2 separate regions of the Homo sapiens genome follow, and region 2 is linked to region 1. Evidence: promoter capture Hi-C in 16 types of primary human blood cells and fetal thymus (Javierre and others, 2016). All regions are on one chromosome and are shown on one strand. The core of a region is centred on a gene start or on the middle of the fragment in contact, and the rest is flanking DNA. Distances in the headings are between cores, read along the strand shown.

What was found. Contacts are between HindIII fragments. The CHiCAGO score rates a contact against its expected background, and 5 or more counts as called.
Region 2: the fragment with the promoter of SNHG8 here is called in contact with the fragment with the promoter of FAM241A in region 1 in 1 of 17 cell types (naive CD8 T cells); the score reaches 5.1 in naive CD8 T cells.

Annotation. Positions count from the first base shown.
Region 1 is chr4:112,142,658-112,149,448 of GRCh38, forward strand. It overlaps FAM241A (family with sequence similarity 241 member A), which reads left to right and starts at 2,797. Exons shown (of 2, transcript NM_152400.3): 1 at 2,797-3,076. The coding sequence starts at 2,924. RefSeq lists a silencer at 2,578-3,227 and an enhancer at 3,568-3,707. The HindIII fragment of the contact is 3,530 bases long and covers 127-3,656 here.
Region 2 is chr4:118,277,465-118,283,532 of GRCh38, forward strand. SNHG8 (small nucleolar RNA host gene 8) reads left to right here and starts at 1,298. Exons shown (of 3, transcript NR_034011.1): 1 at 1,298-1,328; 2 at 1,925-1,967; 3 at 2,160-2,359. SNORA24 (small nucleolar RNA, H/ACA box 24) reads left to right here and starts at 1,726; the gene lies at 1,726-1,856. PRSS12 (serine protease 12) reads right to left here. Exons shown (of 13, transcript NM_003619.4): 12 at 5,367-5,647; 13 at 2,574-4,779. The coding sequence ends at 4,472. RefSeq lists an enhancer at 826-1,005 and a silencer at 1,076-1,125. The HindIII fragment of the contact is 13,799 bases long and covers 1-6,068 here.

The DNA of each region.
Region 1 (6,791 bases), core at 1,547-4,046:
GATATTAAGAAAAAAAAAAAAGGTTCTGCCTTCAGTCCTAGGTGGAGATCCAAGGATTCTGGCTACTCTTCGGTAAAAGTTCTTGGTTTCTGCCAAGAAAATAACACAAGAATTGGATTAAAATGAAGCTTCATGAGAATAGGGACCTAGACCTGGGCCAAACGCCTAGTAGTGTTCAATAAGAGAATAGGGACCTAGACCTGGGCCTAAAGCCTAGTAGCGTTCAATAAATACCTACTAAAAAACTGAATTAATACACTTCTCAAAGACTCAAGAAGCCGGAATCTACAAAAGACCAGACAGTATACTCTAAAGGAATTTTGTAAGACTTGTCCCCTAAGCTGAACAAAGCTAACCTCTGTATTGTACCTGCCCAGCTATATAAATACTCTGTGCCTTCTGAGTCCTCTTATATATAAGGAATTTCTGCTCACTGTAGCCTGATTGAAGAGTGCATAGTTGTTTGGCTTATCAAGTTGCCAATCAAACGCTATGAGGGAGAACTTCAAAATGTGCCTTAGTTCATGGGGTTGGCAGTAAAGAGCTGATGTTCTCTGGGTTGCTGTATATAATTCCAAAGTTTTATCCAAAAAAGTTGATTTTTATTTTTTTATTTTTTTGAGACGGAGTCTTGCTCTGTCACCAGGCTGGAGTGTAGTGGCGTGATCTTGGCTCACTGCAACCTCTGCCTCCCGGGTTCAACTGATTCTCCTGCCTCAGCCTCCCTAGTAGCTGGGACTACAGGCATGTGCCACCACACCCAGCTAGTTTTTGTATTTGTAGTAGAGATGGGGTTTCACCATGTTGGCCAGGATGGTCTCCATCTCTTGACCTTGTGATTCGCCTGCCTCGGCCTCCCAAAGTGCTGGGATTACAGGCGTGAGCCACCACGCCCAGCCAAAAAAAAAAAAAGTTGGTTTTTATAAGAAACACTACTAATAGCCAAACCAAAATTCCAAGAATGAAAATGTTGCCTTCAGGGGAAAAAAAATGAGGCCCATCAGAAAGGCTACTGGGTTCCCATGGTGATATTTGTTTCTGATTGTATGTATATAATATTAAATACTCTTTTCTGGAGTTTTAAAGACTTTTAAGAAAGGGAATGAACCAGATTCATTTTCTTTCTAATTTTTGATATCCAACGGCATATTTTCTGGCCCCTAGAGAGATTGTTTGTGGAGGAGAGACAATCAGAGAGGGCATGTGTGAGAAACCATGTGTGAGAGATGGTGTGTGCGCGAGGTTGTATATGTGTGAGAGAGACTGTATGTATGTGAAATCATGTGTGTATGAGAGAGATTGTGTGTATGAGAGATTGTGGGTGTGTGAGAAAGACTGAGAATCTCCTGACTACAAAAAACAGGAAACTTCTTTAAAATAAGCCTATGAGATTCTGCCTATTTTAATTCCTTCTCTGGGCCTGAAAACATTTTAATAGAAGATCCCAAATAACTCTTACTCTTCTCCATGTGTACACATGTTTACTTTCCATATTTACTTTTCTGTATTTTACCTGTACAATAACCCATCGTTTTCCCAATGTACAGATAAGGCATACACAGAAAAAAAAGTGATATTTTATTTAAACACCCTTCCATTTTCCTTGAATAAAATGGATGGAGTAGTACAAAAAATAATTATCAATTGGATATATTCCCCTCACCACCCACTGAGAAAGACATATTCTTACCCAGTTACAGAAAGATACATCATTTGATACACCATCAAACGACCCAAGGCTCCAACAAACAACACACACTAGGAAGCACTCAACAGAAAGGGACAAATACACAGACCTTCAGTGAGACACTAGGAAAGGAGGCTAAAGGAACAAGAGGGACAGTGAAATGTGTCTTCCTTGAAAAGGACGGGCAGATACTCAGGCAAGAACAGGGGTACTCTGCTGGAGAGTGTAACTGGGTGCATGTGTGTGTTTCTCTCTCACATACAAACCCACACACACTAATCTCTTATACAAATGCGCTCTCTCTTAAATATATGCACTGGCTCTCTCACACAAGTAATTTCTCTTTCACACTTGATCTCTCTCAGTTTCTGTTGTTCCCTCATACAATCTCTCTCTCACAGTCTCTTGCATACACATACAATCTCAATCTCTCTCTCTCTCTCTCTCTCTCTCTCTTTCCCCCCCCCCTCCTCTCTCTCTCTCTCTCTCTCTCTGAAACGGGGTCTGGTTCTGTCGCCCACGCTGGAGTGCAGTGGTGTGATCTCTGCTCACTGCAGCCTCGACTTCCCGCGCTGAGACGATCCTCCCACCTCAGCCTCCTGAGTAGCTGGGACCACACTGCCGCCACCACGCCCGCCTAATTCTATTTTTAGTAGAGATGGGGTTGCCCAGGCTGGTCTCCAACTCCTGGGCTCAAGCTATCTGCCCGCCTCGGCCTCCCAAAGTGCATACAATCTCTTATACGCAGTTTCTTTTATATAGAATCTCTCTCACACACACACACAAATCACGCTCAGCGTCTCTCTCACACTCTCTAACGGTCTCTTACGCACACACAATATCCCTCATACATACACACAGCCTCTCTCATGTACAATCTCCCTCATGCAGTGTATGTCCATAGTTTTTCACACAACACCCTTCTTCTCTCAGTCTGTCGGCCTCTCTCTCAATCTCACACACACACCCCCGCCCCCCAACACACCGTTGGCCCCGCCCCCTGTCTTGGCCCCTCCCCTGTACGGCTCCGCCCCGACGGCCGGGGGTTGGGCGAGCCAGTGACAGGAGGGGCCGGGCTGGTACTTCAGGCGCCCAGGCCGGCGGGGCGCGCTCCGGCGGCTCCTGTCAGCGGCGGGTGCGGCGGATCCCAGGGCAGCCTTCGGGCGGCGGCGCTGCCTGGTGCGTCGCGGCGTGGTCCTCCGGCGGCTGTCCGGGGCGGTAGGAGTTGGCTGCGGGATGTGCTCAGCCGGGGAGCTGCTGCGGGGCGGCGACGGCGGGGAACGCGACGAGGACGGGGACGCGCTGGCGGAGCGGGAGGCGGCAGGGACCGGGTGGGATCCCGGGGCGAGCCCGCGGCGGCGCGGACAGCGGCCGAAGGAGAGCGAGCAGGTGAGCGCGGGGAGGGGCGGCGGCGAAGCGGCCGGGTCGGGGGCCGCGAGCCCCGCCCGGCGTTGGAGGGAAGGGGCCCGGCCCGCGGGCCGCGCCGCAGCTCTGCCCCGCGTGGGCACTGGCTCCCCGGCGCTCTGGGAAGTCGTCGCCGGGAGCGGTTAGACGGCGCTCCCAGGAGGAGCGGCGGGGTCGCGCGAGTGCAGACGCCAGCGCCGGCCCCGGGGTCGCGTGTCTGGCGGGGTCAGCGTGGTTCGTCCCCTGGCGTCCGGCAGAGGATTCTCAGGCTGGCGCCCAGGGCTCGGAGGAAATGCCCTCCATAGCGGTGATTTATTTAAAAGCCTCACTTGTAAACACTTCTTTTTCAACTTCGAGTCCGTGCCCTGCGCCAGGTTTAGGAGACGCCGGCTCCCCTCCCGCCCTCCATCTTGCGTTTCCGAGCCCACACCTAGCGTGTCTGGAAGGTGTGGGTGGATTCCGTCCACGGGCAGCGCTGAAAGCATGAGTAGGAGCGGGTGTTACAATGAATGTCTTGACAGGGACTCTCCCAGAGCACGTTCTTCATAAATACAGATGAGATCAAAGCTTCAGTTAAAAAGTGGAGAGGCAAGAATATTGCTTTCGGTTATAAGAGGCCAGCCATAGTAAGGGAAAAGAGAAGTTGCGTAATTTTTTAAACTCTCTGAGTTTATCTCATTTAAATAAAGTGTGATAATGGGCATTATAACATCAAATATCTTAAAGATTAGGCAAAAGGTTTAATTTTAAAAATTGAATTGTATGTTGGATGAATTTTCTACAGCAAATACAGTATTTAGACTTTCCAAATACCTGAGGTAAGCCGCTCTTTAGACTCACATTAAGGAGCAGGAATTCAAATGATTATTGGCCTTTATTACAGCCTGTACTGTTAGGACAATTAATACCTGTCTCTCCTCATCTTTCTTCATCTGTCCTTTCTGTCACGTTTCACAAATTCCAGTATCATCACTAAATGCATTAATAGATGTATACCTTACATTGTTTCAATAGGTTACTTAGGAAACAGAGTAATACTGTGTGGCACACAAAATATGCCTTAGCGTTAGGTTTGATCACCACGTGGAGTGTAATTTTTCATCTGTGACAATATAAGAGAAAGTGACTCAAGCAAATAATTTGGTAGCTTGTTCTTCGGATTCCCTTCCTAGTGGTTTTTCCCGTTAACTATTCATTTGCTCAAGGGCTTGATTTCCTCTAACTTAAATTGCTTAACTGGAAAAGTGAAGAAGACAGCACAAGAATTCCTTTGGGGGTGGGGAGGGGTTGCATTTGAGCAGGGGTTTCCAAAGTAAATTTTCAAATAGTTGTAAGGGAGCATATAAAAATACTTCATTTAAGCTTCTGTGTACTTCATTAGTATGATTATGTAGACATCACTAATAGTTGTGGTCTTTCCAAAATTGCTTATGGTACAAAGTAAAAGGATAAAACAAAAAATGAAAAGTACATCTTAGAAAACATATCACTTTGCATACCTGCCTCCTTCATTGAATGTCATGAAAGTTCATTCTCCTGTACTCCTTTGAAGTGTTATTTTTATCATTCTGTTTTTGCCTCAAGATTTATTAATGTATTCTAAGCCCCCATACACAATAATTGAAAATCACACCGGAGATAGGCATTTCCTACTACATTAGCACCAAAGAAGAATTAGTCAAGAAGACAAAAATAAGCAAAAAATTGGTGCAACCCAACCCATTGTTGTAAAAAGCAAGCTTTTCTGATAAAACGTTTCTTGGTAATGTTATCACAAAGCCTTGTTTTCTAGTTTTTTTCAAGTTCTGTAAATGAAATTATGCATTGCCATGTAATGATGGTAGAAATAGTATTACATGTGTAAAGATATTTGAGGAAGAAATGAAATTAACAACTATGGAACATATCCCAAGGACTCATTTTATTTAGTTTTTATTTAGGGAGATGATTTTTGTTTGTCCTGTTGGTTGGTTTAAGGATACAAGGACTCCAGATTACAAATGGAATATTTTTGAAAGATTGGTTTCTAAGTTAATGATTTAGAACTTAAGGTGAACTTTTCCATGAAAACAATGATATAAACAGGAACAGAACCAAAACTAATTAGCTGGAAATGAGACAGAGGCCATCTTCCTGCCGTCTTTTCTACTTGGCACGCTCACTTCGTGTTCCGGAGTCATGGATAGCCTCATGGGTATTGAGAGGAAATTAGAGGCAGGAGCTAGCAGAGGCGCTCCTTTTAACCCAGAAAAGAGCTATGGTTGTATGCTCTTGAACACCATAGCTCCAGAGGCACCTGACTTGTGCTCCTCTAGCTCTTTCAATGATTTTGTCAACACCTAATTTTCTGTATTAAGTCCCTTTCTATTTCTATTCCCCTCACAGAGTTTGCCCTTTCCTAATAATTTGATGGAGGTTTCTTTCTTGGGCTATTTCTCAAGCTAAATCCTCGTCCACATACATCCCTTCCTTCACTGATTTTTCTTTCCACTTCTGTCTGAAAGGTTCATTCCTTTTCCTCAACCTGGAAAGCTCTTTCATCAGCTTGTTATTACAATACCAGAACAAAATGTATCTTTATTTTGTTACTTATTTCATATATATATGAAATATATAAAACACCTAGTATTAACATAGGTGTTTTATTACTAGTTAAGATATTGTCTGCATCATTTTTAACAATTTGTCTTTAGATGCTACTCCATTTGAGCAAAAAATGAAGGTTCTTCTGTCATTCTGGCCTGAGTCTTTCCAGGTAGGGCGATTGACAAAGGATGCCTGGTTAAAATCAAGTCACTTAAGAAAGGAGGCCTTGGGAGAATGAATCAAGTCCTGTAGATGAAGAAACTGTGCCAGGTTTGAAATAGGATCAGGTGTCTAAAGAGAGATAAGCAAGGGAAAGAAGCAATTTCAGGGAATGTCCAAGAAACTGAAGGGACAGGACACAGCTATTCCATATATGTGTTGGTAATTGTGTGTATGAGAGATGATCCAAGTATGTTCATGAGGGTGAATGCCAGGTGGCTTTATGTAAGAGTTTCTGTGCCCTGATGCATAGCTGAAAGGCTAAACATCTCTAGTCCATTATTATATGCCTTAAATGTCAATAGCATCTGCTTAGATGTGGCACAATGTACAGGTCACTCACAATCTGAAATAACCTAACATGACCCTCTTACCTAGAGAATAGGGAAGTCCCATTATCCTTAGATTGACTTTCGAATTATTAACTCTAGCTTTAACGTCTTTATGATTATAAAAGTAATGTGTGCTTTGGAAAATTAGAACTATAGAAAGATCTAAAGAAGAAAAAAGCCTTTGAAATCCCACTCTATTTTGGGATTTTGATATCAAATATTTTGATATCAAATATGAAACTTGGTATTACTACAGTATATTCATTTGTCTATGTGTATATGCATATATACACACTTTTTTTTTGAGATAGGGTTTTGCTATGTTGCCCAGGCTAATCTCAAACTACTAGCCTCAAGCAATCCTCCCGTCTCAGCCTCCCGAAGTACTGGGATTACAGGTCTGAGCCTCTGTGCCCAGCCACACATGTATTTTTAATATGTTTTAATATAAATATAATTTTGTGTCTTCTTTTACAAAAGGTTGTGTCATTTTCCCATGTTATGGAAATTCTATGTGAAAACTCTCTTTAGGGCTGCCAAATAATTCATTCCCCTAACACCGC
Region 2 (6,068 bases), core at 48-2,547, 6.1 Mb after region 1:
AGCAGGAGGCTCGCTTGAGCCTAGGAGGTGGAGGTTGCACTGAGCCAAGATCATGCCACTGCACTCCAGGCTAGGCAACAGAGCAAGAATGTTTCTAAATAAATAAATACATAAAATAAAATCCTTAAGCCAATCTTCATTTACCAACCAATTTTTAATTCTTTTATTTGTTACCACATTGTCTCTCCTGAATATCCAAAGGCTCAAAGCCTTGGTTTGAATGCAGCTAAATTCATTGGGTTTGATCTCAAGTCAAACTTAGAAATACTGTCATCTCAGCCACAAATTTCACACTAAAGTAGATAGAAACCACTACTAAATCACTACTTTGTCTTAAAATGAAAGTATAATAGACTGTAAGGTTATAATTGCTTTTTTAAGTTAAACTTTGTTTTACATTTACAGAAAATTTGCAAAAATGGAGTCCCCACACCCCCTTCATCCAATTTCCCCTACCATTAATATCTTACAATACCATGGTATATCTGTCACAATAAAGAAATCGGTATTGGCACTATTACCTAAATTCCACACTTTGTTCAGATTCGCTAGTTTTCCATTAATGTCCTTTTTCTGCTGGAGATCCCAGCCAGGATACCACATTACATTTAATCATTATGCATCATTTTCTCTGGCATAATAGTTTCTCAGACTTTTCTTGTTTTTGAGTAGTGATTAGGTAATTTGTAAAATGCTAACCAGCGATCTCAGCTCACCATAACTTCCGCCTCTCGGGCTCAAGAGATTCTCCCACCTCAACCTCCCGAGTAGCCGGGACTACAGGCGTTCACCACCACACCAGGCTAATTTTTGTATTTTTAGTAGAAACGGGGTTTCGCCATGTTAGCCAGGCTGGTCTCCAACTCCTAACCTCAAGTGATCCGCCCGCCTCGGCCTCCCAAAGTGCTGGGATCACAGACGTGAGCCACCGCGTTCGGCCCCTTTTTCTAATATTGTCTAAAATAAGTATCCTAAACAGGAAATACCAAAAAAATCCCCCTCGCTTTCGTGACCTACACCGGTAAGCGTCAGGATCTTTCGCTATGCGAGAACCTTTTGGCTCTCGTATGTGCGCATGCGTCTGGATCCGGAGCCAGGTGACCCGCTCAGACGTGGACCATGTGCGGGGGAGGGGGGAAAGGAGCCGCGAAGGGGGTGGTAGACGGAACAGGTGGAGCCGCGGCGGGGCTAGGCGGGGCGGGGAGTGAAACAGCATAGGCTCCGCCCCTCGCGGCGCTTCCCCCGGAATAGCGTCATCAGTTCTATAAGAGAGCGTGTGCCGAAGGCCTCGGCCTTTCACATTCGGGAAGCGTCGGGATTAGGTGAAAGTACGTAGTTGTCTTTCGTAAGTTAAAATGATAATTGGGCCGAAACTTACTGCCTTACCTAAAAGGCAGCGCAGTCAGGATATTGGTAGGTCGGGGGCGGCTTTGGAAACCCTTAAGTTTACAAGCATGCGCGGACTTGAGTGCTCATTAGGTCGCCGGGCGTCCACGTGCAGCCCTGGACCCTGAACCCCGGCGTGCGTGGGCCGTGGGCCCTCGGGGAAAGGTTCCGTGCACTCGGGGACTCCGGTGAAGCCTGTTCAGCCGTCTGTGTCATGTGGCCATCTTGAGTCTACTCTGTCGCTCTTGTGCCCTAGCACCCCGAGAACCGTCAGTTTGAGCCAGATGGTGAGTAATAACCTGTAGCAGTTTGGTTGCTGGTTAATTCTGGATTGTGAATCTCCATGTATCTTTGGGACCTGTCAGCCGTGGCAGTCTCCCTTCCTAGCCATGGAAGAGCATATCCTTGTTTATTGGCAAAGCTGTCACCATTTAATTGGTATCAGATTCTGACTTGCACAAGTAACATTCACTGTTAAAAACCTAGAGGGTGCCGGGTTATTGGGCAAAATTTCTAAACCGTTGTTCAATGTTTCTAGGAAGCTGAGCTGAACACATTACGATGGATGATGGAAACATAAGGTACATTTCTTTTTTGATATTTCTGAGTTAATCTGAAACGCCTTAGCGGCAGGACGTTGGAAAGCTAAAGTTGGCCCGTTTTGCTGGCTTTTGTAGTTTGAGTTAACAACCAACTGAATTAGCTGATAAGATCTCAAAACAGTGAGGTAAGTACACAGCTCGGAGTTTTATAATGCTTTTTTTCTCTTGCAGACTATCAAGAAATCCAAGTGGTAATGGGCGAAGTTTATTCAGCATCCGGCAATGGACTTATCGTAGTTGGGGAAACGGGTGTTCCGAATAATATCCTGGAAGTTATCAGGACACCTATTTTAAATATAGGCCTGAATTTTGTAAAGTAATATTTAAGGTGGTCCGTGATAATTAAATAAAATGCTTAATTCATGTGGCTACTCATTGTTCCTTGACTGAGTGATTAATAGACGGAAAGGTAGTTAATAGCATAATACCTCCTATTTAGTGTTACACGCTCATGTGGAAGTAGTGTGAGTACAGTTCTAAGGTAATTGCAGCCTTTGTGAAAAATGTAAAATATAAAAATTACCAGGCTACCCCCAAGGGAGACAGCAGACTCTTTTTAAACCATACAAAAATTTAAGGCAGTTATACAAGGTGGAAAATTATGTATTTATTTACACAAATATGCACAGAACACTTGTATCTTTCAAAAGTCACACTTAAGACATAGTAAAAGCATGTTGTATGAACCATGTATTCTTAAGGATTGAGCAAACTGCAGGCTGCTTGCTGCCTTTTAGGTTTGCTAGTCCCTGATCTACTTGAAACAGATGTTGCTTGCCCCAACACTAGTTTAATTATAAGGGCAGCCTGTGAGAAAGTTTCAATAGACATTTTTCTCACCTATATTGCACGTTTTTCTGAAGCCCTTGTGCAAGTGTGTGTGCCATGTGTAGTTCTATTTACATATAAACGCTACTTTAAAAGTTTATCAAAATCATGAGTTTTTACAAAAGTTTTTAATGCTCTTCTGCATTATATGCAGCATTGCAAATCTGCAAAGTAGTAAAACTATAAAGCACCTTTAGGTTTGCACCAGTTATTACAGAAATGGGGATTTGTGAAAAGGATGTAATTTGATGTAGAAGGGCAAAGTCCTTTAATGACTGGCATTCAAGAGGATTACTTAAAACAATTTGTAAGTTCATGCTAACCTCTTCCCTATATTTATACTACTGGGACCTGGGGAAGGATCCATGACATGGAAGTATCTTGAGTGTGCCTTTTAAATTTGAGCATTACTGCTAAGAATGTTCTGTAAAGGTGCATAGTTAAGCAGCTATCCCTTAACTCTTGGAGAAATAGCCATAGGGAAACCAATCATTTAGGTAGGAGAACCATGGGGAAAAAAATCAGCATTTTTTCTGGAGTTTGGAATCAGTTTCACCAACTGGTCTCACTTTGAGGCAAGCCTGTTTTCCCCCATTTGAAAACAAGGGCTACTACCATAAGATTTACTGGCCTTTTGCAAATTGTCAGTGATGTGCAAAGCTGCCTAATGCAGTGCCTGGCATATGTTATAACTGCTGTATGTATTAGAACTTTTCAATGTGTAGGCCAGGAAAGCATTTTGACTAGTATATTTTAAGATTGGATTGTATCAGGTTGGGCTTGGGAAAACCTGCAGGTATAAGTCAGTTACAGGGAAGTGTCAGTGGGTGGCACTCTTACATCATGGTCGGGGAACGTGGACTATGATGAGGTGCTTGTTAAAAGCAAATATAGTAGATATGTTAATGTGTTGGATAAAATAGGTTGTATGTCCAGCTGGCATTTAGTTACCAGAAATCCTTTCAAATTTTGCTAGTTTATACGCTGTAGGTAGAAAGTATTTTTATCTTATGGTTTCTGTAGCACTTGGTACTCAACAAGGATACTTGTTTCCAAATATCAGATCACTTTGAGAATATATTGTGACAGGCAGATGTCCTTGAGGCTTTACTACTCCTATTCAGGCCTAAAAGTTTATAGTGGAATTCTTTAACCACTGATTTCCTCACTTGACAAAGGCTACAGAGAATATGAAGATTTCTTGTCAAGTCTTTTGAAAAGACCTAAGCATAAATATGCCACTCATGAGTGTAGTAAAGGGTACCGCATTTATGTCAAATGTGGGTATTTAATATGATTTCAGACACCACTGATTCAATTAAAAGGGGTTCTCAGTTCAAATGTAAAAATGATCTTTTGTAAAATCAGCATAGAATGATTTTGAGAAATAGGTAGGGGATAGATGAGGCTTAGAATAAGTCACTCCAGTGAAATTAGGGTAGAAAATGTTCATTTAAGGATTATCACTTCCACTACACTGAGGCCTCTGAAAATGTTCACAAATTTCTCAAAAGCAGCAGGGGGTACACAATTTTTTACCACAACACAAAGCAAAAACAGATCTTGCCATTTGTTGTCATCTCTGCTGAGTGCTAATAGTGGGGGTTCAAAGTTTTCCATTTGTTTAAATGCTGCTTTGAAGTTTCCATGAAGAATTACAGTTTGGTGACACTTTTTATCCAAGGTACAAAGGCTGAGACTTTGGTATAAACACCAGGAGAATCCTTGACTCCACAGCCATACCCCCAGGAGGTCACCCCATACACCACCCAGCTCTCTCCGGGCCGTTCACACATGAGTGGTCCTCCGCTGTCTCCCTGGCAGCTGTCCACGCGTTTGTGTTCATGGAGGTTTCCAGCACAAAGCATTCTCCCTGTAAACCGACCCTTATAACGTTCTTCACAAAACCTTTTAGGAAGTAAGGGAATGGCTGCTTGTTGTAGTGTTCTTGAATAGGCTCGTCCTACTCAGACCAAACATCTGATTAGTGGCATTCCAGATAACCATCGCAACATTTAACAGTTACTGAGCATGTAATAGTTATGAAAATAAAATCCCTGTTGTGGCATTAGTGTAGTTTAAAATGAGCAATGACTAACTGGTATGTACTATTGTTAGCTGCCTTTTTTAATGTTGACACAATCTTAACCTTCACAAATTTCTCAGTACTGAATTGTCTGAGGAATAATGAATAACATTTATGGATTTGTAGAGTAAGGTGACCTAAGAAAGCATATTTGTGCAGGCTTTCGTATTTGAATTCTGTATATTAAAAAGCATAGAATGCATTAATGCTGGTTTCGCATTAGCACATCAATTCATATCTACTTCACTGAATTAAACTGAGTTCTCAGTTTATGCTAAAGTTCTCATTAGAACCAACAATACCTCCAGAATATAAGTCTCAATTACATGCATGCATTTCACACTAAGCAAAATTTCTCCAAATAAGTCTGAATCCATTTAAGATCTTATTGCCCATTGCACACCCAAATATATGGATAATACCAGACACAAAAAGGTGCCCTGCTTTTTTTGATTATGCCTTACCTGTGTCACCCCATCCTGTTATGTAACAGTTGGATGCTGTTTTCTGTGGCCTCTCTCTCCAGAGTGGTAAACAGGCTGGCAAAACATGGCTGCTGAATCTGGCACATTGCTCTTCTGGTCCTTGTAATCTAACCAGGGCTATGTCATAATCACTGCGGTCGGGTCGATACTCCCGATGAATCACAATCTGTTGAACTCCAATTTCTTCCTCAAACTCCTCTGGTACCAGAGTATGATAATCTCCAACCCTAACAGCATAGCTCCTAGTGCTGTTGCCATACCTGAGAGGCAGAGAGTACTAATGAGAGACTTGCTTCAGATACTGAAAATTATTGTCAAGAAGGAAGACTAATGAAGATACAAGCCTTTCTTCCAAATCATCAGCCCCTTTTGTAAATTCAACCTTTCTTTCCATTTATCTGACCCACCATTCCTGATCCTCTACTGCAAACCCATTGTCATAACCTCATCTTCATTTCATTATGTAATCTGTTCTCCAAGAAGGAGCAAATGTGGAGGATGAGTGGAAAATAAAGACTAATCATTAATCTGTCATTTCCCAAATGAAAAGCGATCAAAACAGGAATAGGTCAAAATTATTGTCCTGTGTTGTTGCCCTGTTATTTCCAAGAATTGTTAGTTTGTCATGAAGCTCTGTGAGGGCAGAAACTAACTTTGTGTCCCTCAAAGTACTTAGTACAA